Linked DNA regions of Homo sapiens: all the other regions are linked to region 1. Evidence: promoter capture Hi-C in 16 types of primary human blood cells and fetal thymus (Javierre and others, 2016). All regions are on one chromosome and are shown on one strand. Each heading gives the region's core, a stretch centred on a gene start or on the middle of the fragment in contact. The rest is flanking DNA. Distances are from core to core; before and after follow the strand shown. Region 1 holds the start of CENPE (centromere protein E). Region 2 holds the start of TRMT10A (tRNA methyltransferase 10A). Region 3 has its middle 8.1 kb from the start of DAPP1. Region 4 overlaps LAMTOR3 (late endosomal/lysosomal adaptor, MAPK and MTOR activator 3). Region 5 holds the start of DNAJB14 (DnaJ heat shock protein family (Hsp40) member B14). Region 6 overlaps H2AZ1-DT (H2AZ1 divergent transcript).

What was found. Contacts are between HindIII fragments. The CHiCAGO score rates a contact against its expected background, and 5 or more counts as called.
Region 2: a contact is called between the fragment with the promoter of TRMT10A here and the fragment with the promoter of CENPE in region 1, in 7 of 17 cell types (fetal thymus, naive B cells, total B cells and 4 more). The highest score is 15.4, in fetal thymus.
Region 3: a fragment that was not itself captured here is called in contact with the fragment with the promoter of CENPE in region 1 in 1 of 17 cell types (total B cells); the score reaches 7.4 in total B cells.
Region 4: a fragment that was not itself captured here is called in contact with the fragment with the promoter of CENPE in region 1 in 3 of 17 cell types (fetal thymus, naive B cells and total B cells); the score reaches 15.4 in fetal thymus.
Region 5: a contact is called between the fragment with the promoter of DNAJB14 here and the fragment with the promoter of CENPE in region 1, in 7 of 17 cell types (fetal thymus, total B cells, naive B cells and 4 more). The highest score is 14.5, in fetal thymus.
Region 6: a fragment that was not itself captured here is called in contact with the fragment with the promoter of CENPE in region 1 in 1 of 17 cell types (total CD4 T cells); the score reaches 5.2 in total CD4 T cells.

Annotation. Positions count from the first base shown.
Region 1 is chr4:103,195,757-103,200,793 of GRCh38, forward strand. CENPE (centromere protein E) reads right to left here and starts at 2,587. Exons shown (of 49, transcript NM_001813.3): 1 at 2,508-2,587; 2 at 1,003-1,094; 3 at 407-496; 4 at 164-282. The coding sequence starts at 2,563. RefSeq lists an enhancer at 2,449-3,003. The HindIII fragment of the contact is 3,749 bases long and covers 1,633-5,037 here.
Region 2 is chr4:99,561,073-99,566,109 of GRCh38, forward strand. TRMT10A (tRNA methyltransferase 10A) reads right to left here and starts at 2,967. Exons shown (of 8, transcript NM_001134665.3): 1 at 2,841-2,967. It also overlaps a transcript of MTTP not described here. RefSeq lists enhancers at 2,071-3,270, 2,506-2,635, 2,986-3,045. The HindIII fragment of the contact is 8,482 bases long and covers 1-5,037 here.
Region 3 is chr4:99,806,161-99,811,197 of GRCh38, forward strand. No RefSeq gene overlaps it. Among named protein-coding and RNA genes, the nearest start is that of DAPP1, 8.1 kb to the right of the region's middle. The HindIII fragment of the contact is 585 bases long and covers 2,025-2,609 here.
Region 4 is chr4:99,888,335-99,893,371 of GRCh38, forward strand. LAMTOR3 (late endosomal/lysosomal adaptor, MAPK and MTOR activator 3) reads right to left here. Exons shown (of 7, transcript NM_021970.4): 3 at 3,666-3,700. Among named protein-coding and RNA genes, the nearest start is that of LAMTOR3, 3.6 kb to the right of the region's middle. The HindIII fragment of the contact is 538 bases long and covers 1,813-2,350 here.
Region 5 is chr4:99,944,225-99,949,261 of GRCh38, forward strand. DNAJB14 (DnaJ heat shock protein family (Hsp40) member B14) reads right to left here and starts at 2,394. Exons shown (of 8, transcript NM_001031723.4): 1 at 2,215-2,394. The coding sequence starts at 2,347. H2AZ1 (H2A.Z variant histone 1) reads right to left here. Exons shown (of 5, transcript NM_002106.4): 4 at 4,587-4,716; 5 at 3,864-4,299. The coding sequence ends at 4,238. RefSeq lists enhancers at 1,778-1,827, 4,705-5,037, 4,792-4,841 and a silencer at 1,998-2,657. The HindIII fragment of the contact is 11,087 bases long and covers 1-5,037 here.
Region 6 is chr4:99,964,192-99,969,228 of GRCh38, forward strand. All of the region lies in intron 1 of H2AZ1-DT (H2AZ1 divergent transcript), which reads left to right. Among named protein-coding and RNA genes, the nearest start is that of H2AZ1-DT, 16 kb to the left of the region's middle. The HindIII fragment of the contact is 2,031 bases long and covers 1,681-3,711 here.

The sequences.
Region 1 (5,037 bases), core at 1,337-3,836:
TAAAAGTGAATCTATGCTATGCCTTTCTTCTTTCCCCATGGATAATCAAACAATAACTGTAAATCTACTTCCTTTCATCTTTACAAGAGAAATACACTAAGACTGGTACCCAGTTTTTACTAGTTTTACCTGTACGTACTAGAAATCCAGTTAAGTTACTTACCTTCTTAATTTTTTGGAAAATGTCATGAATTGCCCTGGGTATAACTCCCAAATGATCTTCTGAACCCATCATGGTATATGTTTTTCCTGAAGCAGTCTGTCCATAGGCAAATATAGTACCTGCAAAAAACAAAACACACATACGCAAAGATTAAAAACAAACCTATAATGGGTAAAACTATGCATGCTTGTTGCACAGACGCCCAAGACTAAAATGTTTCTGCAGCATTGAGTGAATACAAACCATTGTAGCCTTGTATGGCAGAATCGATGATTGGTGCTGCTATTTCTTCATACACATTTTTGGTAGTTTCATTACCATGAAAGACACGATCTAAACAACAACAACAACAACAACAACACAGAAGTTAAATCAAATGAGTCCACTGTGTTTTCATTCCAAATTAGTAATTATTCCCAAAAGTAAAACTGTCAGAATGTAGGATGATCAACTATTTAAGACACAGTATTTTTTTCAACTTTTTGGTTCTCTGAAAATACCCTTCCCTAAGGTAAAATGAGTTCATTTTCACACACAAAAAATACACTACAAGTCAACTTTTCTATGTTCTTTCAAGAGGCAATAAGGTATAGTGTTTGCACATGGGGGTCTGGAATCTACCTAGATGCAAATTAGATAACTGTGATTATAACTGTTTTAAATGCCAATTGGTTACCTTACTTAAATACATGATGGATAAACAATTTTGTTTCCAGTGAAGCAGTTTATAGAAGGCTTAGTCTAATCTTTAGTGACAAATCTAATATTATTGATAAGCCTTTTGTACTTTTAATAGCAAAAGGATAACAAGGTAACTTTTGATGCTATTATAAGCTTACCAAAATTGAAGGATTTACTTCCATCAACTTGATAAATGACATTATTGTCAGTTTTCCAGTAAACTTGGGCAGTTTCTCCAAGTGATTCTTCTCTAAAAGAATAAAAACACCGCATTTTAACCAGTCATAAAAGTCATGTCATAGGAGGAATAATTGAAAAGATTTCACCTGCTAAAGAATATTTTGAAAGATAGTAACATAAGAGAATGACAGAAAGTCCATCTTTGAGGATTCAACTCTTAAATGGAGCTTCAGTGACCTTCTGCCGCCTCAAAAGTGTTTTCTTGTGAAGGCTTTCATTCTCACCCTCTCCCCCAGTACTGGTAAACAAAGGGATGGATTCAAAATGCAACTCTGATTATGTCTGTCTTGCTTAAAATTCTTAAAACCTTTTGGAAACTTATGAAATCCTCAGCAGGGCACGAGTCCTAGATCATGTCATTTCTCTCTTCCATTTTCCTCTGAATTCCTAGATACATCCTAAGCTCTACCTGAAGGTCTTCCCCAAATGACAGATGTAACCTCTCTGTGCCTGGAATACTCTGACTTCCCTTTCCATTAAGTAACATAGGGATTATTTCACTCATGAAAAGCGTCAAGACTTTTCTGACACCAGTTCACCCCACGGGAAGCTTTCGTCTCTGATGGGCTAATAACTCCTCTAGCAAACATTCTCTACCTGCCCATCATAACACTTGTCAAAAGGTATCCTAATGGTTTCTTTATGTAGCCGTTTAAGGCATTAGATAATGAGCTCCTCAAAAATAGGAAATTCCTGATCTTGGTATTTGCATTTATTAAACCCCGTGTTCAATAAAAATTTCTCACACACACAAAGTGTTAGCATTTCGGGTCGAGGGCCAGAAGCTAGTGAAGCAAACCGATTTCATTTATTCCTCTTCCTGCTTTTTCTCCCTAGCACTTATTACCTACATATCACCACTTAACATCCTACATTTTCAACTTTACTTTCTGTCTCGTCCCATTAGAATGGAAGAGCCACTGGGCAATGACGGGAGTGTCTGTGTTGTACAAAGTCACTAAAAAAAAATTGATAAATATTTGTAGAATGATCTTGAGTGACGATTGAATGTAATGTGACAAGACAGACTAGCCCTTGTCTTCAGAGGGTCTGGAGACAGCAGTTAGGTGTAAAATGACTAACTGTGATGAGGGCCAGGAAGGCACGGTCCCATACGACTTCTCTAGGCGGGGAATGGGGCAGGGAGGAGCAGATGCCGCAAGGCAGAGCAGCACAGAAGGGAAGGTCTGTATGTCAGCGAGACTGAGTTAAATTTAAGTGAATCTCGCAGCTGGAAAGTATCTTCTAGATCTCCGATCCTCCCCTGTCACTTTACAGACCCTGAAACGATGGCCAGCAGCCGAGTCACTAGACAGCAGAGCCGGGAAGCAGCGGCTCCTGGAAACATCGTAGGCCTCGCCCCTCCGGCTCAGGGCGGCGCCGCAGGCCCAGCGGGCACCGGGCCGTGGTGTGGCCCCCCTACCTGCTGTTCAGCGGCCGCACTCGCACGCAGACGGCCACGGCTCCTTCCTCCGCCATCCTATCAGGCTGAACTGGTCCCAGGAAAATGGCCAGGACCCTCCGCGGCCGGCACTTCAGGGCTCACAGGCCGCCCCGCCTTTAAATTTAAAATTTCCCAAACGCCGCATCTGATTGAGCCGTGGCCTCGTGACGTCATGGGCCATTCCACGTGCGGAGCAGCGCGGGGGACGCAAGGCGGGCGGCGTGACCACTGCTAAACAGGAGAGGGGATTTAAAGGGCCCAGCAGAGAGTCGGAGGAGAGGGCCGAAGGGAGGGGCTCCCAGGAGTGGGCAGAGAGTGGTGGTCCTGGAATACCAGAATACTATTATCTGCCAAAAGCTAGCGAACGTCATCCTCCACCCCATCCTTAAAAAGTTTGGAACCTGTAGACGAAACTAGGTAGAGATACATGTATTTTTCACTACCCAAACAGAATTGCCGTCTTTTAAAGAAACTGCACCAACAGTTTAAAATAAACTTTCAACAGCAAGAGTTGAAATTCGCTGTCCAGTCCAGAAACGTGACAAGCCTGTTGTGCGCCTTAGAAAATCTGAGTTTAGGCTTTTCTCCTGTTTCTCTCTCTCTGTAACTCGTTTCCATTAGCTGTGGCTTCCTCAGAGGTTGAATTAGGGAAAATAAATACCGAGGACTGAAAAACTCATTGAGTAATGGGTTGATACTTTTTTTTTCTTCTTTTTTTTGGAAACGGAGTCTCGCTCTGTCACCCCAGGCTGGAGTGCAGTGGTGCTTATCTCTGCTCATTGCAGCCTCCACCTCCTGCATTCAAGTGATTCTCCTGCCTCAGCCTCCCCAGTAGCTGGGATTACAAGGTGCCCGCCACCACGCCCAGGTAATTTTTGTATTTTTAGTAGAGACGGGGCTTCGCCATGTTGGCAAGGCTGGTCTCAAAGTCCTGACCTCAGGTGATCCACTTGCCTCGGTCTCCAAAAGTGCTGGGATTAAAGGCGTGAGCCACCGCTCCTGGCCTGGTTTGTTACTTTTATTAACTAAGAGGGAAAGCTATTCTAAATACAGTGATTTTTTCCCAAAAATAATGCTTATTTTCCCTTTCTTCTCTCTCTCTCTTTTTTTTTTTTTTTTTTTTTTAAATAAACATGAGTTCTTGCTTTGTCACCTAGGCTAGAGTGCAGTAGGCTGAACACAGCTCACTGCAGGCTCAACTCCTGGCCTCAGCCCAAGTGGGGTTCCCACCTTAACCTCCTGAGTAGCTTGGATTACAGGCACATCACAAGCCCAGATAATTTTTAAATTTTTTTGTAGAGACGGGGTGGTGGGGGGATTAGGGTAGGGAGTGGGGTCTCACAGTGTTGCCTAGGCAGGTCTTGAACTCCTAGGCTCAAGCAATCCTCCTTGCCTTGGCCTCCCAAAGTGCTGGGATTACAAGCATGAGCCATCGTGCCTGGCCTAGCTTTTTATGTGTACTTTAGAAAGCTATCCAAGATGTTTCATTTATTAAGAGAAATTCAAGGTGCACGGTTATGTACACAGAATATGTCTGGATATACATACATAATTTTTGGAAAGATACACAGAATATGCCTAATTTCCTTGCAGAGTGAGGACTGAGTTAGATGGTAGACTGAGTTAGATGAAAGTAGTTTCTTTCAATTTAAAGAAACTAGTTTATAGATAAGAACAGTAAAGAAAAATGAGTCTATTCATTCAAGATTTGTTTTGGTTAACTAGCTGTGAGGTAGTATAAACAACTCTTTTTTATTGCTAGACTGTAAAGATACTTGGTTGTATCTAGTAAGAAAATACAGAGTTAAGGAAGGTATATTTTAACTGTTGTTTTTGTTTTAATTGTGGGCAAATATGAGACAGCTGAAGGCAAGGAACCTATGAAGAAGAAGGGAGATGTGATTAATCAAAATTTCTAATGAGACAAGAGGAGATTGGTTCACGAGTAAAGAGAAGTCATCAGCCTTTCATAGTTGTGCTTATGATCGTTGCTATGACTGTCTTTTTTTATCATCACAGCAGGTGACATTTATTGAAGATTTACTATATGCCAGGCTCTCTATTATATGCTCTCTATCCAATTTTTTCATCTGACTTTCCAAATTGTTCATCAAGAAATATTCATTGAACAACTGTTATGTGCCAGATACGGTTCTAAGGTCAGGAAGCACAACAGTAAATAGAATAGACACAGTACCTGTTGTTGTAGAGTTGCTATTCTCTTAGAGGAGATGGGTAATACAGAAAAATCTCAGTCTCTCTCTCTCTCTCTCTACACACACACACACACACACACACACACACACACACACACACACATAATGTAATGATTAATAGGATCAGGAGACAGAGAGAGAGTGATAAGGTGGGTTAAGAGTGCTAGTTTCTTATGAAACACATTCTTGTGGGAAGCAGCAGACAATACATAACAAATATATAGTAAAATAATGTGTTGGGAGGAAGGTTTATTTTAGATGAGATGTTCAAGAAAGACCTGAGGAGGTGACCT
Region 2 (5,037 bases), core at 1,717-4,216, 3.6 Mb before region 1:
TCTACTGCCTCAACCTTCTGAGTAACTGGGATTACAAGCGCGCGCCACCACGCCTGGCTAATTTTTGTATTTTTAGTAGAGAAGGGGTTTCGCCACGTTGGTCAGGCTGGTCTCGAACTCCTGACATCGTGATCCGCCTGCCTCGGCCTCCTGAAGTGCTGGGATTACAGGCGTGAATCACCAGGCCCGGCCTACGTGAAGACTTTTTAAAGAGCAATGTAATGTTTTACAGGTCATGTACACCAGGGGGAGCATATGCCTTTCCTATCTAAGAAGTCTTAAGTTAAATTTAATATGACCTGTCATAGTACATTAATGTTTCAATCTCTCAAACACAAGGAAAGGTCATGAGATGGTCAACATCTTCATCATCATCATCATCATCTTTTTAAAAACTATTCCTAACTAAGAAAACGACTGTACTAAGTGAAGTTTTTAGGCTTTAAATAAGCCAGGTGCACTGAGACAAATGGAATGCAACAAAAATGATGCTAACCTGATATCTTATAAATTATTCCGTATAGTATACTTTACAAAGATATCTACCAACTCGCACTGTCTACACTATACAATAAGTATAATGTATATCTACACTGCACTATGTACTAGCGTGTTCAGATTACCTGTTAAGCAAAACAGCATTTTATTAGGTATACTTGCTTTCTAATTGTTTTAGTTTGGGCAATAATTTATAAAATTCCATGGCAGAGTTTTTCATTCCTTTCTCACATGCAGTGATGCTCACAGTACATTTTCATTCATTCAACCAAGTTCAACAAATGTTCAAGAACGTATTTTACAGTAACTATAAAAATATTTGTGTGAGGTCGGGCGCAGTGGCTCATGCCTGTAATCCCAACACTTTGGGAGGCTGAGGTGGGCGGATCACCTGAGGTCAGGAGTTCAAGACCAACATGGCGATACCTCGTCTCTACTAAAAATACAAAAATTAGCCAGGCGTGGTAGTGGACGCCTGTAATTCCAGCTACTCGGGAGGCTGAGGCAGAAGAATCGCTTGAACCCGGGAGGCAGAGGTTGCAGTGTGCCATGATCGCAGCACTGCACTCCAACTAGGGCAACAGAGTAAGACTCCGTCTCCAAAAAAAAAAAAAAATTATATATATATATATGTGTGTGTGTGTGTGTGTGTGTGTGAAATTTTACTCCTGCATAAAATTTTAAAAATTTGTGGGGTTCATTCGCAGACATAGGTTATTAAGTGGGCTTACAAACTATCTCACTTTGTAAGGCAAGGACACATCCTACATCAATGAGCACCAAAAGAAAAAAAAAAGTTTTTTAAAACTGCATTAAGTTATGGATTGGGATAAAATAAATAATCGTCGTTAATTTATGACAGTCTCCTTTTCAGAAAAATCTCAACGAATGTGGGAATAATGCAGATTGGAATTAATGACTTGACAGCGATAGCAAAGGAATGCCTTTTTTTTTTTTTTTTTTTTTTTTTTTTGAGAGGGAGTCTTGCTAGGTCGCCCAGGCTGGAGTGCAGTGGCGCAATCTCGGCTCACTGCAACCTCTGCCTCCCGGGTTCAAGCGATTCTCCTGCCTCAGCCTCCCGAGTAGCTGGGACTACAGGTGCGCGCTACCACGCCCAGCTAATTTTTGTTATTTTTAGTAGAGACGGGGTTTCACCACGTTGGCCTGGATGGTCTCCATCTCTTGACCTCGTGATCCACCCGCCTCGGCTTCCCAAAGTGCTGGGATTACAGGCATGAGCCACTGCGCCCGGCCTTTCTTGTTTGTTTGAGACGGAGTTTCGCTCTTGTTGCCCAGGCTGGAGTGCAATGGCGCAATCTCGGCTGATTGCAACCTCCGCCTTCTGGGTTCAAGTAGTTCTCCTGCCTCAGCCCCCCCAGTAGCTGGGATTACTGGCATGCGCCACCACGCCCGGCTAATTTTGTATTTTCAGTAGAGACGGGGTTTCACCATGTTGGTCAGGCTGGTCCCGAACTCCTGACCTCAGGTGATCCACCCGCCTTGCCCTCCCGAAGTGCGGGGATTACAGACGTGAGTCACCGCGCCCGGCCAGGAATGCCCTTTTAAAAGACATGCGGACTAAACGTGGAGGAGCGAAAAGCCCTTTGTTCACTTCAGTTGTCAAGCCTTTTGGGCAGAGGGTTGGGAATGGAAGGGGCAGATGAAATTCTTTCAGAAAGTGACAAGTAATGTGTTGCCATCCTCTTCATATCTGTAGAAAAATTCCCAAATTTAAAGTATTTCAGTGAAATCAAGTAACACTTCGATCTTTATAAAACTGTCCTCAGCTCACAGCACCTGCAGCAACTTCCCCTCGGGCTCTCTACATTTCAGAGAGTTCAGCGACGTCAGCCCTTTGCAGGAAAAATGAGGTAAGGCAGCTTTAAAGAGGTAAAGCCCACGGTCTCTAGCCACGAAGTGGCAGGGCCATAACACGCTTTCCGGCCCTTTAGAGTACAGATTTCCCACTGATTCTTTGCAAACTCACTTTTCACATACTACGGGCCGATGGCAACCCCAAAACACACGCCGACGGAAAGCGCCCCACCACGGGGCGGAGCCTCGCCCACTATCCCTTCTAGGCTCCCAGCCAGCAAACGCATTTCAGAGACGGGATTAAGCTGTCTCTGGCGAACCAGGGAGCAGCTGGGTAGGCCGCGGGGGGCGCCTGTCATCGACGTCATTTCCTTCAGCAAGAGCGCCGCAGGAAACCACTTCCACACCACTGCTCCCCTCTCCCCCGGAAGCCCTTGTTGCTAGTAGGGGGCTGCATGGCACGCGCCCCTTTGCGTCCAGAGAATACCATAGTGCGGGGGAGCGCCAACCAGTGCCAGGACACTTACCGAGCTGAAGAGTTGACAGGGAAGTGAAATCTCAGAAAGAAAGCCTTTCTGGGTTGGCCTGGTTACGGCTCACGCTTCCTTCCACAGAAACTTCAATTCCCAGAGGCAGGGGCGGTAGTTACGCAGTGGAGGCTACGGCGGTTGCGTCTTACGTCATCGAACTGCGGCCATTTCGAACCCGCAATGGAAGAAAGGGGAGGGGTTTATGCGGGGCGGGGTCTGGAGTTAGTGTTTTGGGAGTGGGAGGTAGTTACAGTGATGTCTGTTTTTTCCCGTTCAAGAATTAAGTGTGTACCTGCAGACGTGTATTCATTCATATATTCTTGTGAGTATTGGATGAAGGAATTAAGATAGTCCCACTGTTAAAAATGCAAAACAACGAAGAAAGGCTCCTAATTTTTCTGTGTTGAAAATGAGAGAAAAACATCTCTTGCCTATATTATTTTTAATTTATACAGAAAATTACCATATCACATGATTTTACATAACTCAAGTGGAAAATTAAATTCAAAAAGTGAGTCAGATTCACAATAAAATGCATTTAAATTTAGAATCTGTAAGGCTTTTTTATGGCTGAAGTAAAACAGCCATAGCTTTACTCTTTATTCATTCCTTGAGCTATTTTTCCTATGCTGTTTTGCAAAACATCAGATGACATTTCATTGTTTATAATACTTGACCTTATATAATCTTTTGCTATATATAGATCATGTCAACTGAGAGAGAAATGAAATACAACCCCGTAGATTGTCATTTTCTATTTAGTTTTTTTCTCCTCTACTTCTAATAGGTGATTATTGCAGAATTTGAAGGTAAGAATGAGGTTTGCATCTTGAATAGAAGACTGGCTTCTCATATAGAAAGAATTTTGAAGTAAATTATCCTTGAAGATATTTGAACATGTTTAAAGGCTTCAGTGAATAGAAAATTAAATCCAGAATTTGAGATTCTCTAAAAGAGCCGAAATTTCTTTGACTTTAGTTACAAAACTAAAGTCACTCTTGCCATAAGCCCTTAAATTTTACTTGAAACACTGTATCAGCTATAACACTGTTGTGAGTCCCTCTTCTGTTTCTTCCTCATCTCAAACCTAAAAGATCTTTGTTAACTGAGCACTGGCAAAAAAGTCTGGATCCACTTCTGATCTGTTAGTAGGGCATCTTTTTTCAGCTGCCTCCATATGAGGGCAAAGAGTAGCTGAGGGAGGATTAGTAATTGGATATGTAGCCCTTCACATGTAGGTCATTAAATTCAGGCTGGCAAAGTGATGTGCCAAATCTTTCCACAGCTGTTCAGTTGCTCCTATGGGATCTGTTTTATAAATAATTATACAGTTTTTTCAGAGTTAATACCTGGCCTCCTTAGATATTTTAAACAAAGTTTTAAAGCAAAAAAAACCACTTCATATTCTAATAATGAAGTCAATAAATTTTCTTTTGACATAGACATTTAACTTTGTAGTCATTTGGTGCAAAATTTAAAATGATTCTATTATTAATCCAAAGTAAGCACCAAAAGAGCACCAGCAAAAGTCAATTTAACAAAAAATTGAAACATATAGAAAGTTTAAGACGGTGAAATCATGTGAAACAATATTTTCATTGATTTGTAAAATTTATGTATTTATTTATTTGACACATGTATCGAGTTCTATGCGTTTTGTCTTAGTATTGGTGATACAGAAATGACGAAATCATGCTCTCTGTGCTTAAGGAATCCTTAATCTAATAGGGGAGCCAGCAGTAAATAAATACCATACAACATGTACTTGAGATGCTTGTACTTTGAAAGAAGCAACTAAATGCTCCTTGAGGCAGAGGACATAGTTTTGGAGATTAAATAATTTTGTTTCATCTTGGAAAGTAAGTAGGAGTTGTACAGGTGTCAGAAAAGTGAAGAAGTTTAAGATATTGGGAACAGTGAAAGCAAAGACCTAAGCGTGTCATAGTTTTGCACATGACTGAAAAGCTGTGGATAGAATGAGGAAGAAGGAGGAGATAATAACCCTAAGGGCTTCTCTAACTTGGACAACTGTAGGAATGCAGTAACATTAACCGGGTCATTTAGGGAATACTGGAAGAAAAATAGGTTTTGAGGCCGGGCGTGGTGGCTCACGCCTGTAATCCCAGCACTTTGGGAGGCCTAGGCGGGCGGATCACGAGGTCAGGAGATCAAGACCACCCTGGCTAAAACAGTG
Region 3 (5,037 bases), core at 1,067-3,566, 3.4 Mb before region 1:
CTGGCTCAGTGGCTTAGATGTCAATGGAAGCAGGAAGTAAGAGGAACAGAAACTATGATATTGTAAGCCCCCAGAATTCATGGAAATCTCACTGGATTGTCAGATCACTGGATTGGCCACAGCATGTGAGATAGGGAAGCCTGGAGGGGATATTCTTTTCATTAATTAAAGGAAAGGGTTAGGGGACTTGGATTCCCTCAACCCAACAGGCTGAGGTGACTTGGATCACTTAGGAAGCAATAACACTACTGAGCATCATCATGCCCTTTCCTTCCAGGACACAAAATCTTGCTAGAGAGTAGGCAAGATTAGGTTGAGTTAAGGCCAAGAACAACCACCAAGACCTGCCTGCCCTTGGCCCTGAAGCCGTGAATCCTCACCTATAAGGATTCTTCCTCCCAGGGACTCCCTTTTTTACTCCCAGAAGTCCAGCTCCATCCCTTTCCTATTTGCCCTTGTCTGTCAGACTGGTTTGTATCCTAAGCCTGGATCAAGTTAAGTCCCCCACCATGGGACCTCTGGTCATCTGGATCATCAGTGTCATCGAGCAACCTATTACCCTAAGAAGGCCTTGTTTGCTGAGAGCACTTGGAGGATCTCCACAGGGAGCCGCCAACTCCTGATGCCAGCATAGCTGAGTCTCAGCTGAGCTGCAGCCAAGAGTTACTGAGACAAAAGAGTTTGAGGTTACTTAGTTGATACCTCCAAGCCCGAAAACCTTTCTTGGTTTTGGAAGTCCTTCTTTTTCTCCTTACACAGCCCATTGCTCGTGAGCACACACAGATGGTCCAAGGAATGACAGGCTTCTTTTGTGATGGGTGTTGACTGACACAAACGTGGATAGCTTATTAGGTCACAAGGTACCATCTTTTCTTGGCACAGGCTTATGGCACTCGTTATTGCCCCAGGAGCCCACAGACCCGTCACCACATTACTTTTGGTCTGCAGGCTCTTCCACAGACTCGGGTGCTCTTCAACCTTTGCCGAACATCAGAATCACCTGGGGCAACTGTCCAAGATGCAGGCCCCAGGGCCCTGTGCCTTGGGGATTTTGAGGCTGGTGGTGCACAGCCTGTCCTGGGAGAAGCCCTGCTGCAGCCCTTAGCTTTCAGCTTCCAGTGTGTCACCTCCATGCTCCCCACCCTCCAGGGTCTTCTGAAGCCTTTATTTTTGCTCTGATGTGGCCCCCTTCAGGGCCAGGTTTATCCTTTTTGCTTCGGGTGGATTACTGGTTCAGTCACCTATCACACCATCCTGTCAGTACTCTCTTTTATAGTTCTCCTGCTCTCTTCACATTTTTTTTTTAACCACTCATAGTTCCTCATAATTTTGCTCTTCCTCCTGCTTCCATCCCCCACCTAACCTTCTGGATAAAATTCACTTTGTGTCTGGGCACAATGACGGATGCCTGTAATCCCAGCACTTTGAGAGACTGAGGCAGGAGGATCACTTAAGGCCAGGAGTTCAACACCAACCTGGACAACACAGTGAGACCCCCATCTCAAAAAAAATCATCTCTATAATGTCTCCTTTAGATAGACAGAACAAAAACATTTACATGTTAAGAGAAACTTCTCTTTACCACCCTTAAAATATTTAAAATACCAAAGATCTCATATTTATATGATTAACAGAGAAAACTCAGACCCATGGGCCACCCAGGAACAGTGACAAAATCTACTTCAAAGTTGTTGCTGTGGCTGAGTCACTGTCTCTGTAATCGGGGAGCTGTTCCCAAGCTGCCTTCACTGTAACGCTGAGAACCCTGAAGAATTTTCACTATTTCCAGTCACCGTTACTGTGACAGGGCTCTACGTTAGCAGTTTTAGAGTCACCTACATTCCTTATTTTAAATGAAAATTGAAATGCTTTGAAGATTTATATTTACCAAATGAGCTGAGGAAAAAGTAAGTGCTTAAAATATATTGCAATTGCAGAAATGAAAATCATTTTTAGGTATAAAATTGAATTTTTAGATTTCAATCACTTCCTACTCATTTAAATTCTTTCAGTAAAGGTCTCAAAGCTTTAAAGGGAAAAGAGAGCAGAACTAAGAATTGAACCATTTAAAACTTGGTGAGACAGGTAATAAATTATACCTGAATCATTTAATGGTTTAGTAGTCTGGCGTTTAAGGAATCTTCTACAAATGTGGTGTTGGGTAGTATCACCTGAATTCAGCTACTTTAATAAAGAACTATACTTTCATAGAGAGGAAGGAAAAAGCGATGGATCTAATCTTGACTTCAGGTAAAACAGCTCCCCCGCGCCCACCAACGCGGTATTACTGCCACCTAGTGATAGCATATCCTCATCACAGAGGTCCTGCCTGTGGAAGTGGAGGGGAAGAGGTGTAGTAAGCACAGCCAGTAGGGCGAATCCACAAATTAAATACACCCGGGGGTTGGGGGTGGCGAGGGGAGCGCTAGAGTAAGGCTATATTTTCTATAATGTCCATTCTCATTGCTTCCAGGGCTATTTTAAGAAATATTTATTTTGATGGGGTTTCAAAGTAAGTCATATGAGGACCTGTAAGCCACAGTTTTTACTCCCGCGGAGTTTGTTTTACGCAGGCTTCAAATGGACAAATAACATACATCTGAGGTTCAAGCTTTCTATTAATTTAATGCTGGCCTGGAAAACATTTTGTGATTTAAAAGAAAGCACCAAAGTTAGCTGTATTATTACTGGACTCAGCAAGGAAAGAATTGGGCTCAGTCAGAAGTGCCAGAATCCCTGTAACTAGGGGTGAAATCTCAGGCAAGTATCTTAATAGTTTCCAACCCCACTTGCCCAACCTGTTAAATAGGGGAACTGAAGTAGGTTCCCTCTAAGATGCTCTCCATGAAAAGCTCTAAGACTCCTCTTATTCATTTCTGAAGTCCTACCCCAAGGTAGACCAAACGTTCTGACATTTTGGCTGAGCTGCTCCATTCACACACATTATCATGAACGATTTCAAATTTTACCCATTTTCAAAAGCTGAATCTACCCTGGTGCTTCGTGGAAGCTAAGAATCTGGGAGATATCTCAGCTGGCCAGTTGGTCAAATTATCTTTGTTATTTGCCATTAGCTCCCGTTAGTTAACACAGCAATCTTTTCAGATGAAGTGTGGACAAGAAGACAAAAAGTATTTGGATAGGGCCCACAGGATCCAAAAGTGCGTAACCTTGTTTAATTTCATTTGGTTGAGTTAGCAGCTACTTTTGCAGACTTAAATGCAAAAATGCTGGTGTGTTTGAAGTTTCATTTTTGTCCAGGCTTTCATTACTCAGAAATCAGTGCTGACACAATTAAGCATGACCTTTCCATGCAGATGGTGCCTTGCTTCACCAGCACAAACAGCATCTGCCACACTCACCCACAAGTGCACATGTTTGCATATTTTTAAGACACTGCATCTAAAAATGGTAAAGTAAGTGCTGAAGTAAAGCCTTTGCGGAAGGGAGCATAATATCACTTAATCTGTTTGCATTACCTGTTAAGAAAGCCAGAGTGAAGTTCTAGGAAATTAGGAGACATGCAAAACACAGCACTCTTCTTAAACCACACATGTGCTCTCTTAACATTATTGGAATAATGTATTAACACTGCTCTATCTGAAGGCATGTTGATTTGCTGTGCTAAGAGGTGTTTGGTTAAATATAAATCATCCCCAGCTTCAGCAAGAAAGCCTAATATATATTATGTATGTGTGCAGGATAGCTTCAGCAACCCTGGGTATTTGTTTCTAAAAAGTCACATTATTTCAAAGTTAAAAGGGAACTTAAAAGTGACTTAGAATAACTTTCCTTCTAATATAAGAATCTTTTTTACCAGTGACATACAAAGGTGAGGGGGTGCTTGGGAGCACTTTAATCCCTGGTATAGTCAATAACAATAAAGAAACAGGCTGTGCGTTGTGGCTCATGCCTATAAACCTAACACTTTGGGAGCCTGAGGCGGGAGGATTGCTTCAACCCAGGAATTCAAGACCAGCCTGGAAAGAATGGCAAAATCGTGTCTCTACCAAAAAATACAAAAATAAGCCTGGTGTAGTGGTGCATGCTTGTAGTCCCAGCTATTCAGGAGGCTGAGGTGGGAGGATGGCTTGAGCTGAGGAGGCAGACATTGCAGTGAGGTGAGATCATGCCACTGCACTCCAGCCTGGGTGACAGAGCCAGACACTCTCTAAAAAAAAAAAAAAAAAAAAAAAAAAGAAAGAAAGGGAATAAAGAAACAATGATAATGATAAAACCAATGAGAAGTCATTCTGCTCTTTATTATCACCAGAAACCAGCAATTCTAACCAATGTCAATGACAGAATATACCTCTCAGCAGAGGCAAACCATTCCTCACTCCCTACCAAAAACTGAACATTTGTGTCCCACAAAATTCCTATGTAAAAGCCTAATCCCCAATGTGATGGTATTTGGAGGTGGAGCCTTTGGGAGGTGATTAAGTCATAAGGTCATAATTCTCATTAATGGGATTCATGTCTTATAAAAGAGGTCCCAGGGAACTTCCCAGCCCCTCCCACCATGTGAAGACACAGCAAGAAGACAGCCAGCATCTATGAACCATGAATCAGGCATTATCAGACCCCACATCTGCTGGTGCCTTGATCTTGGACTTCCTAGACTCCAGAAATGTGAGAAATAAATTTCTGTTTTGTGTAAGCTACCCAGTCTGTGGGATGGGGTGGGGAGAGTGACCCAGGACCCCTAGTGATGAAGGTGGGGAGAGTGACCCAGGACCCCTAGAAATGGGGTAAGGGAAGAGTAACCCAGGACCCCTAGGGATGGGGTGGGGAGAGTGACCCAGGACCCTAGGGATGGGGTGGGGAGAGTGACTCAGTACCCCTAGAAATGGGATGAGGTGACAGTGACCCAGGACCCCTAGGGATGGGGTGGGGAGAGTGACCCGGGACCCTTAGGGATGGGGTGGGGAGAGTGACCCACGTTATTCACAGTCATATGAATAAGAAATTCACTTCTGTGTTGAAGTGTTAAATTTTGGGTCTTTCTGAAGTAGCAATTTAGCATACCCTGATGAA
Region 4 (5,037 bases), core at 832-3,331, 3.3 Mb before region 1:
GGTGTCAATTGTGCACACTGACAATGACATAATTTATCACTAAAGTACTAAGTTATCAGTGAGAATCCCTGGGAAATTAGCAATTAAGAAACATATGGTAGAGCACAAATATACTGTGTTAAAAAATATAAGGTGACACTCCTCGACTTTCAACATTTATGCAAAACCCTTTCATTGTTAACATAAATCTTATAGTCCTGTAACTATCTTATGGTATCTATAAACTACAACTCAGAGATATGTTCAATGTCCCTACAGCAACCCGGAATGATCTATTCTTTGTGTTAACTTTAATGTATTAACTAAGGAATAAGAAATACTTATATTAACCTAATGTTTAAATACTGACATTAAATTTTTTAAAATCCCATTGTCAAAAACTTTTAAGTCAGAAAAGTGTTATTAAATATGAATGGAAAATGTTACAAACAAAATCATTTGTCTTCCTTACATTAAAAATAAGAATAAAATAACTTTATAAATGACTTTTATACTATTTTTATCCTATTATTGGCATGATTTCCTAATCATTCAATCCTAAACTTATTTATAGATTAAAATATATCTCTAAGATTAATACATAACATAGGCCGGGCACAGTGGCTGACGCCTGTAATCCCAGCAATTTGGGAGGCCAAGGTGGGCAGATCACCTGAGGTCAGGAGTTTGAGACCAGCCTGGCCAACATGATGAAACCCCGTCTCAGCCAAAAACACAAAAATTAGCTGGGTGTGGTGGTGCTTGTCTGTAATCCCAGCTACTTGGGAGACTGAGGCATAAGAATCGATTGAACCTGGGTTGCAGTGAGCCAAGATTGCGCCACTGCACTCCCAGCCTGGGTGACAGAACGAGAGTCTGTCTCAACAACAACAACAAAAAGATTAATACATAAAATAAATATATTCTTCTAAGTTAAAAACTAGGTTATATAAAACATATACTACAGATATTTGTACATAAGCCAATTATTTTGTGCAGTTACCAAAAGCAACATCATTTGAAACAGTAAAGCATTACAAATCCAACTGTCCATCAAGAAGGACAAGGTAAGTTATGATATACACCTACAAAGGAATACTCTGGAATACTCTGCAGCCATGAGAAAGAGGAAGTTCTCTATGTACCAGGAAAGATTACTCTCAAAGTTACATTCTTAAGTGAAAAAATACACAGTTTAGAACAGTGTATAGAAGAAGCAATAAATTATGTACCAAAATATGCAGGCATATGTGTATGTTGTGTGTATAAATACGTGTATATACATGTCTGCTCATAGGTACATAAAATATCTCTGTAGGTAATGGTGGGTGCCTCTTTGAGGGGAAACTGTGCATGTGGCTGGAGAGGAAGGATGGGCAGCTTCTCACTCTATGTTCTTCAGTTAAGTCTTGAATCTGAACTCTGTGAATGTACTACTTACCCCCAAAATAAATTAAAAAGCAGGTAAAAAGAGGACCACAAAAATGTTTAGAAAAATTAGTGCCACCACAGGTAGCTTCTTTTTTTAAATTTCCATGGAAATTACTTTAAATACAACTAATGCTCCAAAGAAAATAAAAGGACTTTCTTTTTGATGGACTTCACAGAGAAATGAATCAAGAAAGTAGAAAAATTACTTACACTCTTAAGTATATAATTTTAGAAATCAGGTCACAAATATAAAAGCTGTTTTCAATTCTACATACAATGCGCAAAGAGTAATATAAATAGAATTTACTAATAATTAAAAATAACTGGCTCATTAAGAGATACTACACTTTTAGAAGAAATGAATTAAATTTTGTGAAATATTCTGAAGAAATCTAAACCTTAAGCTTACTAAAACAACCATTTTTTTCTAAAAACAAATGTTGCATTACTAATCAAAGACATCGGATTTAGTTTTATACACATAATTATGAAATATTTGGTTGTTTTAAAACATACAAAGTGGGATTATTAAAGCCTGAGACTGCTTTGGGTCACAACCAGATTTTAAATTGCAAATACAAGAACGATATTTTGCAGAGAATTCAAAAAACGCACAAAAACACACATTCCATTAGTATCCGTAGCTGGCTGACTTTGTTACTGAGAGGCACTGAGGTACAACAGTTAAAAGCATGAATCCATGGCTCTGAAGCAGGATGCCTGCATCCAAACCCATACATCTAGCAACAAATCAAAGCGTATATTCTACTATTCTTCATAAATGTTCAAAACATTATTATTTCTTCATTATTACTGTTCTGGGATGCAATAAGCCTATTTTCAATAAATGATATAATGAGTTGAACTGGCTTTTTTTCATTATTAAAAAAAAAACTGACAGTACTAATACCTTTCCTGCCATTATGAAAGATTTTCATAAAGCTTTTAACAAATATCCTTTAACTGAATTTATTTCTTGGATAAGCACAACAACCTGATATTTCCCCTTTTGTTAAAAGATAAGAGACATCTAAATTCAAAGAAGAAGCAAGCATTTACTTTCCAACTATTTTTGATCAACATTAGAACTACTCAGTAATATAATAAATACTTTTGGTATTATTCTCTAATTCCTTTACACAGACAGCTTCATCATATCCAGTGTCACACGCTATTATGATTTTGAGAGCACACTTAATAGTTAAAATGAGATCCCCATTGTCTGAAACATTTTTATTGCTTATAATCACAGATGATGTAATTAGAATCAATTATTGCTTTATTAGATCTCCAGGTGACTAATGAGTATCTTTCTGGTCGGTTTATAACTTAAGAACATTGAATGCAATTTTGCTGTTTCTTCAATAAGAGATGCTAACACTCAAAAGAGGACTGTAAATCACTAAGACTTCTAAGTGAATTAACTATGTACTATTAACTATTTCATCATATCACCAGCGTAGTGGGGTATCTCTCCGTCCCAATTTGAGCGCCCTTTCATTACGCTAAGGTAACTACAGAAAAACACAGAAAGCCCTCATTTTGCATAGTTCCAATATGCACATTTTAGTTACTATGGTTAAGTAATACCACTCCCTGCAGAAGAGCACAGGTCAAATTTTAGTTAGCATGGCATAATACCTCAATAACTACGTAAAGTATAAACTTTTCTAACTCTTTAGTCCACAAATCACTACATAAATAATTATGTAATTAACAGATGCACACTGTCATCAGTAACCAGCCACATCATTTCTTTCAAAGTATGTTGATGGTTGGTCACTGTGCATCTGTTATGCAGCTCATGCAGAGATAGCAAAGCATGTAGTTTTGTACCTCCTTGTCTCCCAATGATAAAGTATGTGACATTTAGAAAAAGAGATAATAAAAAGAGGAAACTGGCCAACAAAGACGAAATACAGCAAAGAAATGAAAAGTAATAATGCTGAAATTTCAAATAGAAATGCTGAATTTCAAATAGAAAGTAAAGAATTATAGAAGAAACAGATGACCAAGGGAATGCTGACACTATCGCTCTAGATACACAGAGAACTCAGTGAAGGCAAACTTATTGACATAAATGAGGAAAGCGGTTGTGACGAAAATTTTCCAGAGGACGTGAGGCTGGCAAAAAATATTCATATTAAAGGAAATCTCAGAGATACTTCACAACATGGAAAATACAGACAAAATGCTTCATAAAATTAACATATGGCATATAGAATTTATTCAATAACAAATTAAAAATTTCTTACCTTGGTAACTTTTTATACAAGAATCGCTTTAGGTCCTGAAAGAGAGCATTAAAAAATAATGTTGTAATAATAGGCCTTCCACTGTTTTCTAGATCCTGTCCTATCCAAATTTTAAGGAACTTCAGTTATCATTCATAACCTTTCTTGCTGTGTTTTATCTTTCTCTGTCTGATTTGGATGTTTACTAGTCACGCAACTTGGAGTAAGTTAACCAACCTTTTTTCGCTAAGCTTATTTCATTATTTGTTGAATAGGGCTAATATAGAACCTACATCATAAAAGTGTTGTTAAAAGTTTATTGAGAAGATGCATGGATTAGCATACCTAGAAATGGGAAACACATTTTAGCCATAAAATTACATCATAATTTTCATACTAGTGTTTTACATCCTGTTGCTATTGTGTTCACTTGAGAAGACGTTATAAACACCTTTCCATGTTCAAAGATAGACTTTCCACCATCATCTTAATGGTCTTGGGTAAGGTGATATGACCTCTGTAAGACTGTTGTCTCACGTGACTATCACATTATAAAAATATGCCTTCCATTGTTTCATTATTTGTTGAACTCACCTACTCAACAAATAATGAAACAGTGTAAGGCATATTATTATAACGTAATTTTTAAAATATTTTGTTTAAGGACCTAAAATAAATTCTATATGACTATGTGAGGCAACATTTTTTTTTTTTTTTGAGACGGAGTTTCGCTCTTGTTGTCCAGGCTGGAGTGCAATGGCGCGATCTCGGCTCACTGCGACCTCTGCCTCCCAGGTTCAAACGATTCTCCTGCCTCAACCTCCCGAGTAGCTGGGATTACAAGCACCTGCCACCATGCCCAGCTAATTTTTTGTATTTTTAGAAAAGACAACGTTTTACCATGTTGGCCAGGCTGGTCTCGAACTCCTGACCTCAGGTGATCCACCCGCCTTGGCCTCCCAAAGTGCTGGGATTACAGACGTGAGCCACCGCGCCCAGCCCAGTGTTACAGAATATAAAATAAATGACAATGTGTGTCAAGTGTTTAACACGAAACACAGTTAAGACTAAAGAAGTAGAAGACTATTTTATTTTTCTAAGCTGGGGCTCACTGCAACTTCCAACTTCTGGGCTCAAGCAATCGTCTCGCCTCACTTCCAGCATAGCTGTGACTACAGAGGTATCAATGCGCCTGGCTGATTTTTAAATTTCTTTTTGTAGAACGGGGTCTTGCTATGTTGCCCAGGCTGATCTTGAACTCCCGGCCTCAAGTGATCCTTCCATCTCGGCCTCCCAAAGTGCTGAGATTACAGACTAAGCAACCGCATTGGCCAGAAGACTATCTTATTTTGTCTCATTACACTCTCTTATCCCAGGAATTTCACTGACAATT
Region 5 (5,037 bases), core at 1,144-3,643, 3.3 Mb before region 1:
CAAAACCAACAAAAACAGAAAATAGGTGTTGGCAAGGATGGTGAGAAACTGAAACCCTATGTACTGTTCGTGGGAAAGTAAAATGGTGCAGGCGCTACAGAAACTGTATTGTGGTTCCTCAAAAATTAAAAATAGAATTACTGTATGATCCTACAATCCCACTTCTTGGTATCCAAAATAATTGAAAGCAGGCTCTTTGCATATCCTTGTTCATAGCAGCATTATTCATAATAGCCAAGAGGTGAAAGGAACCCAAATGTCCATAGACAGATGAATGGATTAACAAAATGTGGTGTATATATACAATGGAATATTATTCAGTTTTTTTACTGTAGCTTTTTTTTGGTCTTTTTTTTTTTGTTTTTTTGAGATGGAGTCTCGCTGTGTCGCCCAGGCTGGAGTGCAGTGTTGCCATCTCGACTCACTGTAACCTCCATCTCCCGAGTTCAAGCGATTCTCCTGCCTCAGCATCCCCTAGTAGCTGGGATTACAGGCATGCACCACCACGCCTGGCTAATTTTTTTGTATTTTTAGTAGAGATGGCGTTTCATCATGTTGGCCAGGCTGGTCTCGAACTCCTCACCTCAAATGATCCGCCCGCCTCGGCCTCCCAAAGTGCTGGGATAACAGGCGTGAGCCACCGCGCCCAGCCTAATCAGTATTTTTTTAAAGAGGAATTCTTCACGTTACAACATAAATGAAACTTGGGAACATTATGCTAAGTGAAGTAAGACAGTCACAAAAAGATACTGCATGAATCTACCTATCTGAGGTAACTAAAGTAGTTAAATTCACAGAAACACAAAGTAGAATGGTAGTTGCCAGGGTCTTAGGAGACGGGGCGGTAGGGAGCTGTCTGATTAGTACACAGTTGTGTTGTAAGATGAAAAAGTTCTGAAGAGTCCTTGCACAACAATGTCAATATACTTCACTAATGGACTGCACACTTAAAAATAGTTAAGACCGTAAATTTGGCAGGTTTTTAAACCACAACTTAAAAAATTATTAACTCTTTTCTTTCATTTTATTTTCCTGTCCTCATGGGTATAGTGTTAGAAGGCAATGTAATGGAAAGGATAGAGAGAAAAGCAAAGAGCACAGGGCTTCAACGACGTAGAGAAAAAAATTTAAGAGACAACAAAACAAGTGGCCCCATATTTTCATTAATAATTTTCTACAATTAATTGAATCTATCGATAACTTTCTTCTTAACCTGGAAATACTAATGGCAAGGCAACAGTGTAGCGGTTAAAGGCCTTTTCGAGTCTGAAAGTTCAGCTACTATTCTGACTTTGCTACTAATTGTTGTGTGACCTTGGGTAAGATACTTTCATTCATTCGCTAATTCATTCATTAATTATCAGAAAGTCTGTTTCCACGTGGGTAAACCTGGTCAAATGAATCCTGCACCTCTACACAGAATTGTTCTGAGGAATAAATGAAATAATCCATGCAAAATGTTGGGCACAACTATTGGCACTTTGTGCTCAATAAATGTTGGCTATTATTACTCCGAAGCCTATCGAGTAGGAAAATAAATAAGCTGACTTCAACTAAAGGAAACCCAGTACCATATTCCTCAGAGATTTGGTTCGTCGATAATCATGGTGTTATCAAATCAGATACTCTTCAGCAATCATTACTGACTCTTGACCATTCTTGCCGAAAGTGTGCTCTTCTCTTTTAAAGGAACTCTCTCCCAGGGAAAAGCAATGTCATCTCAGGTATTCGATGTTTGCTTTGGGAACAGTTTTCTACAGATCTCAGAAACATGGAATCTGAGATTAGCCACTAGAGTACACCATTCCTCTCACTTCGATAGGGGCCTAGGCCTTATGTAGGACTGAGAATGGGGAGGGAGGGGGCCACATAAACAACACAGATACAAATAAAGCCTCACTGTGGTAAGACGGGACCAGACAAGTCTCCTCCAGGGAGAATGAAACCCGGACATTTAGGACAGCGGAACGCGGAGCCGGCGGGCAGGCGGGTGCAGAGGAACCTCGCGCAGCATTCCCCGAGCCCCAGCCCGGAGCCGGGGCTGGGGCCAGGGCGGGGGTGTGTCGGGATGCTCCCCACCGGGCCTGGGGCTGGGGCTGGCTCAGACAGGCCGGGGGCCCCGCAGGCCTCCAGGAGGGGCCGAGGTGGGGGCAGGGGCGGGCTACGCGGTGGTCTGGGGATTGGGCAGGAAGAGAAGGGACGCTGAGGTCTCACCGCGGGCCGAGGGCAGTGGGTAGAGCTTCTCGGCCTTCTGCAGGAAGCGCTGGGCCTTCTCGCGGTTGCCGGCGTTCAGGGCCTCCCGGGCGATCTCGACACATTTCTCAGCCTCATCCCTGTTCCCCTCCATAGCTTGCTCCTTCTTCCGTTTCCTCCGGCAGCGCAGCTAAGAAGGGCGGAAGCCGCCGCCGCGGAGGAGGCGAGGCGGGACCGGCTGGGGGCGTGCGGCGGCAGCGGGGAGGAGCGCAGGGGACCGCGGCAGCGGCTGCGACGGCCCGGGCGGACGGGCGGGCCTCGCAGCTCCGCCTCCTCACGGCGGCCTCCCCGCCCCCCGCGGGCCCCTAGGGCGCGATCCGCATCCGTCCCGGCCCAGGACCAACCTCCTGGGCCGGGGCGTCCGAGCTGACTCGGTGGTCCGCGCACGGCGCCAGCAGGCTCGAAGCGGACCTGCCCGGGAGGCGGACGATAGCAGCCGGGCTGCCCATCGCGGGGAGGGGTTCCGCCCGGGACCCGATTGCCGGCATTGGTAGCGCCGTGCCCTGTGACCTCCAGGCGAGGCCCTCGCAGCTCAGGCCAGGAGGACAGGGTCCGGGAAGGGGACACTCGTTTTCAGTAAAATTGCCAGGACTTGGAGGTTCCGCCTCTGGGCCCCTCAAGCGAGGGAGGATGCGGTCAGGTGAGGACCAAGGTGTCAGTCCAGTCTCAGCACTTCCGGGACACGTTAGAGCGTCGTTTGAACCTAATCTTAGGGCTTGTATGGCAGCCTTATTTCAGCTACATTTTTTCTGACCCGGATGTCTGGCTATCCAAAGTACAAAGCAGTTTAATTTGTAGCTTGCAACGAGTGGTGCAGATCGACCTTAATCCTGTGTAGCCAAAACAAGGCAGGAATCAGCCCCTCAGGGGCTGCCCTAACGAAAGCAAACTTTTGATTTCACCTTTTCCGTCCCATTTGGATAACATTACCACTTGGAAGTACCGTGTCTTGTTAGTCTTCGCGGTGGGGGTGGGGGGAATGTTTGCTATGTGCAAATTTTTTAAAAAAAAACATGACAAACTGTCAAAATGACCTGCTCAACCCAACCACAAGGTAACAATTTTTACATAATGCTGTGAGCCAAGCTGTTAATTCTGCTAACTACCATAACTCGGTACTTTCAAATAAGAAACCCTGCTTCTCTTCGATAAAATGGAGATAGTATATCCCCAATGATGTTACTGAGTACTTAACAACTTCAGACTTCAAAGCAGGGCCTGGCACGTAGCACTATTATCTTTAAAGTTTAAATTCGGAGTTCATTCTGTGGATATACAGGACATTCCTACCTATTCTCTCCCTCCCCAAGTCCACCATGCTAACAGCATACTAGTGCAGTGCTGTCACACAGCAAGCGAAGCCAATGTACAAACTGAAATGGTCACACTTAGCCTAAGAAACTGACAATCCCACTCCAGCTCCTGCCAACTTTTTAAATTAAAACTTTAGTAGCTCATATAACATTAAAAAAATATACTTGGGCTATCTCACTTTGTTGATCTACAGATTTGACAGTTCAGTCACAAAGAAATGTGCTTAGTTATTGCTGCTAGATGAGATACTCAAAACAAGTTCCTATTACAACCAAGCAAATTTAATACACAACTAGTTTGGGATATGACCTTTATTGAACTTATCCACCAGAGTGGAAATAATGTCTGTACAAAACCAAATGTTTGTTACTATAACTTCTGCATCACAATTAAAATCCAAACAGTTTTTTAAAAACAGTCAACTCAATCAAAACCCACTACTTCAGAATCAATAGCTTCTTTGAAGCCACAGTAACACTTAAATATGGTTAAGACTCGAATGCAGAAATTTGGTTGGTTGGAAAGCTAATTAAACTTCCAACTTGCTCAAATAGAATTACAAAAAGGCAAAATTGTGTTTTTCACAGAGATACAGTCCACTGGAATCACCAACACTGGACAGCTGTTAGAGTATTTAGAGTCCTGAGATAACAAGGAATCCAGGCATCCTTTAGACAGTCTTCTGTTGTCCTTTCTTCCCAATCAGAGATTTGTGGATGTGTGGAATGACACCTAGGAGAGTGACAGGAATTAATTCTACTTAAGATTTTTTAAAAAATCACAGTATTTGAAACCAAGAAAGTGTATACTGTTCAACTTGAAAGGTATCTTTAAAAACATGCAGCTCAAGTATGAAGTAAAAATTCATTGAGTTATACATATAAATCAAATTTCATGATACAACCATACTTCCATCATTGAAAATATACTTAAATTTCCTCTCCTGGAAAAACTAATTAAAAGCAGCAAAAAATTCCTTCCTCTGAAGAAATTTTTTAAAATGTTAGAAGTTAACATACCACCACCAGCAATTGTAGCCTTGATGAGAGAATCCAATTCTTCATCTCCACGAATAGCAAGTTGCAAGTGACGAGGGGTAATACGCTTTACCTTTAAGTCTTTTGATGCATTTCCTGCCAGTTCAAGTACCTAAAAGGCAGAATCTGTCAGTTGCCTTCCAACTTTCCTTTGGCCAAGATTCAGAGAACAGAATAAAACCCTCACAAACGCAGATCTACCAACTGGAATCGTTCCTCACTATCTGACTGGCAAGATATACAGGGGGCACGCAATTTTAATTCCAAGAGCAGAGAACTCAAGCTCAGTAGGATCCTTGTTGAACACCAGCTCCCTCTAGCGTTCTCTTAGGCCTCTCGCCGCGTTCAGGGCCTGGGAGTTTTCTTGCATCACTTTCCTCCTTCCCTCTTGCCGCCTCCCCGCCCCCCAAACCTTCTCCGGATTATAGGCGTT
Region 6 (5,037 bases), core at 1,446-3,945, 3.2 Mb before region 1:
CAGAGAACAAGTTTGAAGACTCTTTCACTGGCCAAAATGGAATACATTGAGCATCAAAAATAATAATGAACACAAGTTTGAGTCAAGCCTATTGAATTTTTAAAAAGTAATGAGTTCAAATTGAAGAGAAGAGAGTTCAGAGAGAAGACAGAGGAGGAGAAAGAAAAAGGTAGAAAGAGAGGAGGAGAGAGAAAAAAAAATTTGCTGGATGCTGTTGGAAGTGTCCACAGCACCAACTCATTACTCATATCTCAAGACTGATAATTAAAGGTGAAGAAGTAGGCCAGGCAAAGTGGCTCCCGCCTTAGGGAGGCTGTAGAGGAGGATTGCTTGAGGCCAAGAGTTAGAGATCAGCCTGGGCAACACAGTGAGATCTCTTCTCTAAAAAAGAAAAATTAGCTGGGCACAGTGGCACTTGCCCATGGTCCCAGCTGTTCTGGAGGCTGAGGTGGCAGGAGGATTGCTTGAGCCAAAGAGGTTGAGGCTGCAGTGAGCCATGTGACAGAGTGAGATCTTGTCTCAAATAAATAGATACAAATAAAGGTGAAAAAATAAGCATTTATCCTGTCTGTATGCTATGAATTATGTTTCAGTTTATACTGAACTAACTGATGAGAAAAATTTCTCTGAACAAAAGAATCTCAGCTAATAAATGCAGAAGAACTAATAGAATTTTTTTTAAATCTCAATTTTTAAACCTTCACATGAATCATTTAAAGGTCATTAATCTGCTGTAAAATCATTAGATGAAAGTTTAGGAAATTTACAATGAAGGAATATGGCTGTTACCCCCCACCATCAATCTTAGTATTGTAAAACTAAAACAACCAGATGAACCAAATGCCTTTTGATGTAATCAACATGAAAATGAACTACACAACCCCACCTATGAAGTATTCTTAAAAAAAAAAACTGAACCCATATCTGTTCAAGTCTTCAGGACTAATTTCTTGGCACTGAAAATAAAAAGCCACCAAGCAGACAATGCAAAGAAGCATTAGCCATATCCACAATGTGTAAAATTGACCTGTTTTTTTTCAATAAGGCAATAGAATTCAGGGAAGGAGAAAAAAGAGGAGAAAACTGTTCTAAATTAAGAGATATTTAAAAAGAATTGTGAGATAGAACAACCCAGTAAAATGTGTGAACCTTGGTTGGAAGCTGATGTCATTAAACCTCTAATTAGTGGTAGTGGTTGTTTTTTTAAGGTTTTACATAATTGGGGAAATTTGAATACAGATTTAGAACTAGGTAATATGAAGGAATTATTGTTAATGCTGTTAGAGAAAACAATGGCATTTGTTTATGTAAGAAAATGTCCTTTGTTTTATTATTTTTAAAGAAAGCACATTAAAATATTTAAGGTTAATATAAAATGATTTCTGAAATTTGCTTTAAAATGCTCCAAAAATTTTTTTAATGCAGGAGGCATAAACAATATGGCAAAATATTTATAATTATTGAAATTAAGTACTTATTTGAAATTTTCAGTAGAGTTCAAAAAGAAAAAATTGGTAATGAAATTGCTGCAGATGCTGTCTCTGTGTAGGAAGAAAAAAATGGTAAACTTTGCTTTGTGGTCATCAGTTTGCCGTTGTTTGGGACCTTTTCATATCATAGTTTTTACCCTTAAATTAAAAAAAAAAAAAACCAACCCCAATATCCTGTTTAAACAAACCAAGCTTCGCTTCTTAGCCACTCTGGTTTCACCACATAAACGATACTTTATTGTTTGAAGTTGTGCTGAGCTGTCTTTAACAGCTAAGTTTATCTACATATATAAATATTCTGACTGTAAATTTTGTTTTGTTGGGCTATACTAAAATAACATGCAGAGAACTTGAACATGAAACACAAACGGTAAGAGGCAAAGATGCAGCAGTGGAAAAAAAGAGGAAAATTGAATTCAGAACAAACTGGATTTGACATTTATGCTTCCCAGCTAAGAGACGTTGGTCTAATCAACCTATGTGAGCATTCCACTTCTCTTGGGCAGAATGGGACTATTGTGAAGACTGCATGAGCTAAGTCATGTGCTTTTTTAACTGTAATGCATCATACCAAGATAAAATATTATTAGCATGAAGAATGAATGCTGGCAATATTTCATGACTATTTTCATTTTACAAAAGTGAAAAATTATTTACACTGATTTTTAAAAAGAATTAAAAATAATTTACAAAATTTATCCTAATAAACAGCAATAAGAAACACATTTGGTCTGCCTTTACATATTTCCATCGGTAGGAGAATCAGATCTGCTCAACAAGGATAGAGTTCCACTTTGGTTTTTGACTTTGTTCCTGCTAAGGATCATTTTACTACAGTGATATTAGGTCTTACTTAGAAAAACTATTATTCTGTCTCTTCAGGTGTAGTTAACTACACTGAAAATTTCCATTAAAAAGATACCAGAGTAAAGAAATAATTTTATAATGCAGAAAATCACCCCAGTTTTACTGTTTTATACCCTATCTTTAATATATCAAGTTTGTTTGTTTTAATTTCAGCACCTAATACAATTTCGCCTCTTCAAAAACTTACAGATAAATTGAGAACTATACTCAGAAGCCACAGGCAACATTAACTGTGACTTAGATGGTTCTGAGTAATTTATAATTCAATTTGCAGCCAATATTCAGTGTTGTTATGCACTTGAACTCAGCTTTTCTGGAAATTGTTTAAGGCACGTAAACATCCTGCGTTAATGAAAAGTTGTTCTTACAACATAATTGTGAGTCATGAAGAGAGAACTGAAGAAAACATAACCTTTTTTCCTTATCCTTTCTTTAGAAAAAGAGGCCAAATGAAAGAATATGAATATCTCTTTAAAGTAATTAATGGCTTAAGGGCTACAAAGTACTTTGAAAACAAAAGCAAAAATTTCTCCTAATAAACAGCAACAAGAAACACATTTGGTCTGGCTGTAGTATTTCTGTCAGTGGGAGAATTAGACACACAAGGATAGAGTTCCACATTGTTTTTCATTGTTGTTGTTGTTTGTTTGTTTGTTTTGAGACAGAGTTTCGATCTTCTTGTCCAGGCTGGAGTGCAGTGGCGCGATCTCGGCTCACTGCAACCTCTACCTCTCAGGTTCAAGCTATTCTCCTGCCTCAGCCTCCCAAGGAGCTGGGAATACAGGCATGCACCATCATGCTCGGCTAATATTGTATTTTTAGTAGAGATGGGGCTCTTACCATGTTGGTCAGGCTGGTCTCGAACTCCTGACCTCAAGTAATCCACCTGCCTCAGCATCCCAAAGTGTCGGGATTACAGGTGTTAGCCACTGTGCCTGGCCCACATTGGTTTTTTACTTTGTGCCTGCTAAGGATCATTTCACTACGGTGATGTTAGGTCTTATTTAGATAAAATGTTATTCTGTCTTTTCAGGTGAATGGTAGAGAAAATAGATTATATTCCTGTGGGCACTGCTAGTACTTTCAATACTTTTATAATGGGCTCATCTGTATCTCTTTACTCTCATTTTTTCATTTTTTAATGGTCTCAATCTAGATGATTCTTTTCCCATTTAAAAAGCCATTATTTATTAATTGATTGATTCTTGAAAAGGCTAAACTTGTCAATGTTTCAACATTTAAAAGGCTAAAAAAAGTGGTATAGAGTGAAAATTCTCTCTCCCACTCCTATCCTTCAGTTGCTCAGCAATGTGTTTTCTCCATAGTTTCCCTGATCACCTGCTTTTGTTTACAAAGCTTTTGTTGCTTCCTCTATCTGAAATGTGCTTCAGATAGCTGTCAATTTTTGCACTTTACTTCTTCAAAATATGGCTCAATACTCTCCTTTAGTGAACATTCCCTGAGCCACCATCTCCAAAATTGATCTCTTATTCCCCTTGATTCTGCATCATTGAATATGGTTTGTACCCTGCTTTCTTTAATATACTTTAAATTGCTAATGCTCCTAAATTACTTTCATATTTTCTGGAATGATTTTAGATTTTTGAATAGCCTACAGATTTACAGTGCCTTGAAAGCAAGAAATGACTTTTATTTTATTTTTCCTACGTAGCAGTCTGGATCTATGCAACTAGTTGGTGCCTAGTATCTTCTGTATCCTCAAAAATTATTAACTGGCATTTCTCAAAATTTGGTGCATATCAGAATCCTGGGGCCGAGAATGGAGGGGAGGTGGAAAGTGGGGAGCTTTTGAAACTCGTGAATGGTAGGATTCACCCCATACCAATTAAATCAGAGTCTCTTGGGAGTGAGATTTGAGCATAAACAGTATTTAAAACCTGCTGGATGACTTCAATGCACAGCTATGTTTTAAGAATCAGTGATCTAACCCACTCCCTGCCCTCAATTTCAGTGATGACCTCATTCCATGAGAATCTGCTCTTCCTACCAGTGTTATACAATTCTCCCTGCATCTGCACCCATCTTCTGCTTTTCCCCCACTACAGCTAAGAAAGAGTTCCTCTGCTTCCCATAGGCCTCCTTCCAGCTGCCACATTGTCTTTGCTCCCTTTCACAGAAACCTTTTCATGGGATTTTTCTTTGCAGGTGGTTGTCACTTTTTCACCTCCAAATCTCTCTTCAACCACTTATATTTGACTTTCATTCCCATCAGGCCTCCCAAATGGTTCTTGTCACTGTTAATTGCCATGTTGCCAAACCCAAGGGTCAGTTTTCTTCCTTCTTTTTACCTCTCAGCAGCATGACCACACTTTCCACCAGATACTGCCATTTCTTGACTTCCAGGATACCATATGGTTGCTTCTCTTCTCCTTTTATTGCTTTCTTTCATTTATTTTCTCTTCACTACCTGACTTCAAGATGGCACTTTCCCAGGGCTTGGTCCTAAGCCCTCCTCTTTCTCCACATATTTCCATGTACAACTTTTAAGTAGAGATGATTTCAGATAGTAGATGACTGAAAATTTTTTACCTTTATAGTTAAGTACAGTTGTCTCTGGTTATCTCTGGAGATTGGTTCTACGAACCCCGGTGGATACCAAAATCATCAGATGCTCAAGTCGCTGATATTAAATGTTGTGGTATTTGCATATAACCTATGC